3 separate regions of the Homo sapiens genome follow, and regions 1 and 3 are each linked to region 2. The links are contacts of gene promoters, found by promoter capture Hi-C in human tissues and cell types (Jung and others, 2019). All regions are on one chromosome and are shown on one strand. The core of a region is centred on a gene start or on the middle of the fragment in contact, and the rest is flanking DNA. Distances in the headings are between cores, read along the strand shown.

Region 1 (2,700 bases), core at 35-2,534, 42 kb after region 2:
AACTTATGTGTAACGTAAGAAAATATTTATCGGTAGCATATAAATTCATTGTCAGGAATGGTGGTGATGCCAACCAACCAGACTATCCACATGGGTGCCTGAGATAGTGACGCCTTTGCTTTCTGATGGTTCAGTGTAGATAAACTTTGTTTCATGCACACAATTATTGAAAATATTGTATAAAATTACCTTCGGGCTATGTATATACAGCATATATGAAACATAAACGAACTTCAGGTTTAGACTTAGGTCCCCTCCCCAAGATAGCTCATTTTTTATGTGCAAATACTCCCAAATCCAAAAATATCTGAAACAAAACATACTTTGGTCCAAAGCAAAGGAAGGTATGGAGAACTTAGATAACTTCTCCAAACTTCCTTGCTGGAAGTCCACCACTGATCTGTCTGATCAGAGTGAGCCAGTGCTCTGTGCCCCACCCTTCCTCACTCCTCACCCGCACTATCCTTAGGGAGGCCAGCAGCCTTGAACCTGAAGGAAGACCACTAAAAGAAGTATGGCCCATAGGTGAGTGAGAGGCAGGCTTAAGGAGCAGCTGGCTACCTCTGAGTCAGCCCTGTAGACAGGGTGGCCGTGCACTGTGGTCGTGACCAGGTGCTGCAGGCTCACCTCCCTCACCTTGTTGGCTTCAGCTGGGGGCACCAGCAAACACCCGACCACAGCCACCAAAGATAAGAGCTTCATGCTTATCAGGCTTGCTGGGCCAGCAAAGCCGGACACCTGGAAAAAGAGATACGGAGTCGGAGAAGGGGAAGGTGGCCACACCGCAGCCAGCACGCTAGGCCCTTAACCATCCGGCCAAGTGGGAATGGGGTTGGGGGCTGGGCTCCAGGATTCCAAGGCCTGCTAAACCTGGTCGCCAAACCCTGCTTCCCTCCCGCCCAACTCTCCGGCTCTCCGCCAGCCACCTGGTGAGCCCGGCAGAGGGGTCCTCGAGGGGACACCGCTGCCAGGGGCCTCCAGTTCCTTCTCAAGGCCCGGCTCTGACCCGCGCATCACGTCCCACCGCCCTCCGCCATCTCCGCCTCTGCCCGCCCCGCAGCTCCTCCCCGCTCGGGCCCGACGGGAACTTTTGGGTGCGAGTCTGGGACCCCTGCTCCGACGGCGAAGGCCGGTGCCCACCACGCCCAGAGGTCTTAAGCCGGACTGGGACCCCCAATAGCCCCGCGACCCCCGTCCCCTCCCCCAATGCCGCGTCCACGAACCTACAAGCCCGCTGCAGCCGCAAAAGACCCAGTTGTCCCCGCCCTCTCCTAGCTTCTATTGGTTGCCAGAGCAGCCCCTTAACCCGACCGCGCTGTCGCCATGGCAACAAGACCCGCCTTCACCTGGGCGGGGAGACTCTTGCGCAAGGGAGAGGCGGGCATTTCTCAAACCCGACCAAACCAGAAAAGGGAACGTCAGCCTTCCAAACTCCTGGGGAAGGGTCTTGCCTTTGTGTGGCCTGAGAACTCCCACTGCGGTGCTTCTCCCTTCCTTGTATTATAAAACTCAGCTTGTTTCATCTTGCTGTTTTAGAAAGAAAGCGCTTTATACACTGTAAGCTAGTAACGTCAACAAAAACGATACGAGATTGAAGGGCTTTGTCCTCATTCAAAATCTGGAAATGTTATTTAGGGATCCACGTCTTTGCTGCAGAAGACTTTCTGCGCGGCAACGTCTCTACCCCTACACACACCTCTGAGAAGGAGAAATCTAGGGTTGGCGATGGGTGGTGTGGGCTGGGCCTGTGAAGAGTGTGCACAACAGCGTCCTCAGCCTGATCCCCCTACCCCATGCTGGTGCTGGGCCTGGCAAAATGGGGCAAAGTGTGCATGGCCAGGATGCAGGGGTGAGGGTCCCTGGCTGCTATGTGGCAGATGTGAACTTCTTGCCAGCTGTGAAGGAAAGGGGAGTCATATGAATTCAGGGCACCAGACCCGGAGTGAGGACACCGGGGCTTTGGCCCTGGCGCTCCCCCTAAGCAGCTGTGTTAGCCTGGAAAAGATACCTCCCTTCTCTGGGCCTCAGCTTCCCTTACTTCCCTTATCTGTAAAATGATTCGGTTGGATTCTAAGATCCCCTTCAGCTTTGATATGTTGGGATTCCTTAGGGGTGGGTGGGAGGGGTATCAATATGGCCCAAACTTGAGGTTGGTGGCTGGATTAGCATAGGGGCTGGGTCCAGGTGGAATCAAGCCCCTCGCAGGCCCTGTGAACTGAGGTGGGCACTTATCTGGAGGCCACTGAGTTTGTGTTCCTCTCTCCTATGCTTATGTCTTATTCCTCTTTATATCCTTGCCACCTGGCAGAGTGACCTGTGTTTGGTAGGTGCTCAGGAAGTGTTTGCTAAACTGAATTCTATAGAATTAAATTAAATCTAGTTGGCAGGGGGCAGGGGCAGGAGGCCTGCAGTGTGATGCAAAGGTCAGGGGCTTTGGAGCTAGAGTGACCAGGGCAGGAATCCTGGTTCCTCCCTTCCTAGTTGTGTGAATTTGGGTGGTTTCCTTTAGGACACCGCCTTTGGATCTTTGGAAGTCTTTGGAATCCTTTCAGAAGTCTCGGTTTCCATGCCCATAAAATGGGATTAATATTACCAAATTTTCAAGGTGGTTGTAGGGATATAATGAGTTTACATATGCAAAGCACCTAGAACAGCATCTGACACAAAGAGGGAGGCTCTATAAATGGCAATGTTAGCTCA
Region 2 (2,700 bases), core at 69-2,568:
TAAACCTGATTGCAGAAGAGAGGCAAGGAGGGAGGGCCTAGGAGGGTTTGATGTGGGCGATATACCGCCTGGCCGAGAGCGGGTCAGGGGAACAGGGCTGACCCTGACCCCAAACTATCTCTACTTGCCCCACGTTTCTCTTGTCCTTCCAGTTATCCCTCATTCTCCTTCCTTCTAGGGAACAGCTGGTAGGAGCCCAGCCTTCCAGAACTCTTCAGAAATATTTCAAATATGCCCCACCCTCGCTCTCAGAACCCACTTGACACAGCCCTCCCCTTCTCTCTGTCACTCCTTCCTCCCTTCCCCAAATAACCCAGATATTTTCATCATTCTCCCCACCAGAGCAAATGCAAACATAGCATGAGTTTCAAAGTCCCTGTCCCCAGGGTGGCACGTCTGAGCTAGAACAACCAGGCTTGTTTGGCCTGTGTCTTGGAGCCACTGAGACCAGGTGTCTTTCAGATCCATTTCTCCCCTTGGCTCTGTCCTCAGCTGGGACCTGCCCCCAGAGGAAGCCTTCCTTCAGCTCACCTCTGTCCACTGTCACCCCCCACCCAACCCAAACAAGGGAGAGTTTTCTCAAAGAGGCCATCGCATCTTTTTTTGGTCCCTATCCTATTCTAAAATGAGGCTGGTGCTTCAAAAACCTAGTGGCACCCCATGATAATGTGGATTTGGGCACACATGGGAACAGTCCCCATGAAACAGGCCCCACCCATAGGTGGTCAGTAGGCATCTCTGGTTGTCATCCAGGACTTGGGTGGCCCACTCAGGCCCAGGAAGCCCCACCAAGTCCTCCTTCTCTTCCTCTTCCTCCTCCTCCTCTTCCTCCTCCTCCCCCACCCTCCTCCTCTTCCTCCTCCTCCCCCACCCTCCTCGTCTTCCTCCTCTTCCTCCTCCTCCTCTCCTGCTTAGCCGAGGGCTCCTTCCCCCAGCTCCTCACTCAATTCTGTGAGTTCACCCCATGTCTAAGTGCCAGGCCTCCCTGGCCCTCCTGTAGGAAGTTTGTGCTCTGTGATCACCCCGAATCCCTCCCTCATGACGCACACCCCCCCCCACGGCCCGGGCCCTGAAGGATACTTCCATTCTACAATGCTGATGCAGGCCTTCCTCAGGGGGTTCTCCAGGGTCAGGCAGAACAAGGCCCGGGGTGGCCTTGGCAGAATCTCAGGAACTGGCTTCTTGGGCTGTTTCTTCCTCAGGCCTTCATCCTGGGGTGAGGATGGCTCCATGGCTTCCCTGGGAATCTGGCTTTCTCCTGCTCCCCCACCCCAGTGCTTTCCCTTCCCTGTGTCCCCAATGCCCCCGCCTTGGGGACTAGGCTGGCTGAGGCTGTCGGCTGAGCCTGCCCTGCTGAGCCAGCCAGGGGGCGGGGGCAGGAGTGGGGGCAGGAGGATTACTCTCCTCGCTCCCAGCAAGTAAAATTAGCCTCCACTCGGCTCCCCGCTGCCGGGCCTGAGCTTCTGAGGCCAGGCAGCTGTCATTCCACCCAGCCCAGCCAGTGACTTCCCAATCTGTCCCCTGAGGAGGGTGGGGTGGGTCGGGGGAAGAACTTACACACAGGCCTGGGATGGGGCAGGGGCAGTGGGAGAGGGAGACAGGATGGAAGGTTTCAAGCCTGGGGCAACAGAGGTCAGGAATAGGTAGCCTTGGATATGGAACCTCAAACTGCAGAGTGGCCCCCTCATGCCAAAATTAGGCTTACCCCTCCTCAGCCCCATGACATTGTCTGGAGAAGGCACTGGGCAGCCTAAGTCAGGACAGCTCCACAGCAGCCCCTACCCATCTCAGTATCTGCACCATCAGCCAAAACTCCCCAAGCATACCCTCAACCCACCCCCACAAGCAATCCCATGTCAGAGAAACAGTAAACCCCTCTCCAGTGGGCTAGAAGGCTCCCAGAACAACCCTGAGTGTGCACACCTCTGGCATAGCACCTGCCTCACTGTGGAGCATCTGCTGTGTATCTTTCTTCCCCATCTCCTCCCATCCCTACAGGTGTAAAGGTTGTGTGCATTATCTCTGGGACTCTGGCCCCTTCTCTGCACAGTCCCCCTATGTACTATGCTCCCTGTAAATGTTCACTGAGGCCAGGCATGGTGGCTCACGCCTGTAATCCCAACACTTTGGGAGGCTGAGGTGGGAGAATGGCTTGAGCTCAGGACTTCAAGACCAGTCGGGGCAACGTAGTGAAACTCTGTCTCTACAAAAAATACAAAAATTAGCAGGGTATGGTGGTGTGTGTTTGTAGTCCCAGCTACTAGGGGGGCCAAGGTGGGAGGATCAGTTGAGCCTGGGAGGTTGAGGCTGCAATGAGCCAAGATCTGGCCACTGCACTCCAGCCTGGATGACAGAGTGAGACAGAGTGAGACCTTGTCTCAAAAAGAAAAGTTCATTGAGGATAGCCACGGTAATCCCAGCACTTTGGGAAACCAAGGTAGGTAGATAACTTGAGGTGAGGAATTCGAGACCAGCATGGCCAACATGGTGAAACCCGCATTCTACTAAAAATACCAAAGATTAGCGGGCGTGGTGGTGTGCACCTATAATCCCAGCTACTCTGGAGGCTGAGGCAGGAGAATTGCTCAAACCCAGGAGAAGGAGGTTGCAGTGAGCAGGGATTGAATCACTGCACTCCAGTCTGGGCAACAGAGCAAAACCTGTCTCAAAAAAAAAAAAAAAAAAAAAAAAATTCATTGA
Region 3 (2,700 bases), core at 91-2,590, 41 kb before region 2:
ATAGCTTCCCTTGCTCTCTCCCCCTTGACCTGTCTAAAGCTCTTCTCTCAGAAAGGAACCAATAAACAGGTCCCTCTTAGGTGTAAATAACTGATAAGGTTTAAAGCATTACTTTTCCCAGATATACTAGCATTTTAAACAGGGCACAAGATCTTAAGCTAAAACACTGAGTTTCTCATAGTATAACTGTAGGCATGGAGAGTCAGACAGGGTTTTTTCTAGGGCAGGGAAGCAGATGAGAGCCGCATCAATCACCCCCACAGCAGCCAAGGGGCACCCACTTATTGGTGGGGCTGAAGATGAAGAAGGAGCTGGCTTCTGGAATGGGCACGGCCTTCTCTTTCAGCTGCAGCTCAGCCAGGGGACGTGGTCGGGGGCTCAGCGGGATCTCAGGCTCATCTTCCTCGTCATCCCCTGTGGGGAGAGAGAGAGGAATTAGGGGTGTCTTCCCATGCTTTGCTATGCCCATGGCTTCTGTGCTCAGAGCCCTCCTAGGAGCCCCTGCAGCCAGTAAGCAAGGGACCACCAGGCTGACTTGGGACCCTAGGGCTTTGGCAGAGTCCAGCCCGGGCATCTCCTTCTCTTCACAGTGAGCAGATTTGAGCGTCAAGGGTAGGTAAGGGAAGCCCACAACCTTCCAGAAGTGGGGCAAGGAGCAAGCCCAAGTAACTTTGTGGCTGCATGTTGTGTCTCAAGGCTCGATCCACACAGCCTCAAATATCCATAGGCTGGGGGATGGAGTGGGAAACGCTGCTTCAGAAGAAGAGACCTGGGTCCTAGTCCCAGGTCTGCGTCTAACTTGCTGTGCAGTGCTGGGAAGGTCTGTGCCCTTCCTTAGCGTCAGTTTCCAATTTGTGAAACCGACAAGGGGCAGGAGGGTTGTTGAAATAAAAGGACCCTGTGATCCTCTCCTGGGCTAGGATTTTAAAAATAGTAACTTCACAGAGAAGCTTCTTCCAGCATGGAAAAAAGCAATCAGAATTTCTTGAGCTTCACCCAGTCCCCAGGATGCAGGCAGGGGATAGGGGATGAAGAGACGGACATTCCAAGCACATTCACTGAGTCTCATGACCTCAAGAGGAAGCTGAGTACCCGAAATCCTCAGCTCCCAGGGTGGGAGAATCCCGTGATCAGACGGTGGGGGCACTATTCAAAGCTGGGGTTTCTCTTGGTTCCCTCCCCTGACAGCTACCTCCTCCCTAACCCTCCTGGCCCCTGGCAGAGGCCTTGAGGGAAGCCAAGAGCTACTGGATTCTACTGTCTCCATCATGGCCACCTGTAGGGGTTCTCAAATCCACCAAGTCACATTCCAATTTTTCTGTTCCCCCGAGAAGCTAGAACTCTTATTCCTTGGAATGAGTGTCCTAACGTGACACTTTCTGTCTTGCCCAGCCTGCCACAGACCCCAGAGACACATTTCACGCTTAATCGCAGAGACCATTAATTCTTCGAGTTAGCATATTTGCATCTTTCCCCCGCCTTCTTACTTCCTCCACCTATGCCCAGTTTGTTAATTTCATTGCACATATCTTTTGCTGTAAGCCATTTCAAACTATTTTTAGAAAGAAGCAGGATATAAACACATTCAGTCCCCTTGGTAAGACTCTCTTCCTGCTGTCCAGCCCACACCCCCTCTACCCCTCCTCTCCTTACTTCTTTCCAGCCCCTTCCTTGTCCCTGACCTCAGATTTCCTGTCAGCCACCATCTCACCTGCACACAAGTCACTGCCATCTAAGAGGTGATAACTGTTAGATGAAACAACTCAAAATGAGTTATTCTAAAACACAAATATTCATTGCTGGTAGATATTTGAAGAAATTTCATTATTCTTATTTGTACCAGCTCCATTCTCCCCATACTTCACTTTGCAAAATTCTTTCATGCATTCATTCATTCAATTTATTGAGTGCCTCCTCTGAGCCAAACACTGTGCTGTGTGGAACACAAAAGTCCCCCTGGAGCTTAGAGTCACTGGGGCAAACAGATGCTAATCAGCTGATTCCATAAGTAGACATACAAGTAGCTGATCAGCTGATGGGACAAGTAGATCTAAAATTGCCCCACTGACCCGGTGATCCGAAGGACCCAGGACCCAGAGAGTTCTTGGGCCCCAGGGCTCTGTCAGGTGGCCTGGTAAGATTAATTCAGCCTGGTTCTGCTTGTCCTCTTCTTGGTCCAGATAAATGGGATTTCTGCAGCAGTCACTGGCTATTTGCATTTATGAGATGTTTGTGGTTTATCCACGGTTGTTTCTTATCCATGCTCCCCCTACCCCACCATTGTTTCCTCCTCTTGGACTTTCCCACATTGCCTGCCATGGTTCTATCCATCCCTGTATCCTTCCGGCCCCCAGCCCTACCAGACACTGGATAGTGAGTAATCTGCCTCATCACGACATATATGGGCGTGTCCTCATTTATGATCCATTCTGCATGACTGGCAGGGAAGACTTGTATACCCACGTGTCCCTGTGCTTCTTGAAAACTGAGTCCTTGGCAGTGAGGCACATAGCTGGCACTCAATAAATACTTGCTGAGTTACATGAAAGTAAAATGTATGGGTTTTTCTGTTGTGTGCATTGTTGAGAGAGACAAGCTGGCAGATGGCTTATTTGCACAGAAGGGATGTCTCCGGTGTTCTGATCTCCACATGGAGGGGTACAGGTAGGGACACACAAGAGACTGCCCATGGGGAGAATT

Evidence for each region. Contacts are between HindIII fragments. The study calls those that stand out against the background at their distance.
Region 1: a fragment that was not itself captured here is called in contact with the fragment with the promoter of CACNA1S in region 2 in 1 of the 25 tissues and cell types used here (ovary).
Region 3: a contact is called between a fragment that was not itself captured here and the fragment with the promoter of CACNA1S in region 2, in 2 of the 25 tissues and cell types used here (liver and psoas muscle).

What each region holds. Positions count from the first base shown.
Region 1 is chr1:201,153,222-201,155,921 of GRCh38, forward strand. TMEM9 (transmembrane protein 9) reads right to left here and starts at 1,253. Exons shown (of 5, transcript NM_001288565.2): 1 at 637-1,253. The coding sequence starts at 702. RefSeq lists an enhancer at 490-639 and a silencer at 1,050-1,329. The HindIII fragment of the contact is 5,085 bases long and covers 1-2,700 here.
Region 2 is chr1:201,111,108-201,113,807 of GRCh38, forward strand. It overlaps CACNA1S (calcium voltage-gated channel subunit alpha1 S), which reads right to left and starts at 1,319. Exons shown (of 44, transcript NM_000069.3): 1 at 1,081-1,319. The coding sequence starts at 1,232. The HindIII fragment of the contact is 14,734 bases long and covers 1-2,700 here.
Region 3 is chr1:201,069,991-201,072,690 of GRCh38, forward strand. CACNA1S (calcium voltage-gated channel subunit alpha1 S) reads right to left here. Exons shown (of 44, transcript NM_000069.3): 17 at 282-414. Among named protein-coding and RNA genes, the nearest start is that of CACNA1S, 41 kb to the right of the region's middle. The HindIII fragment of the contact is 4,386 bases long and covers 1-2,700 here.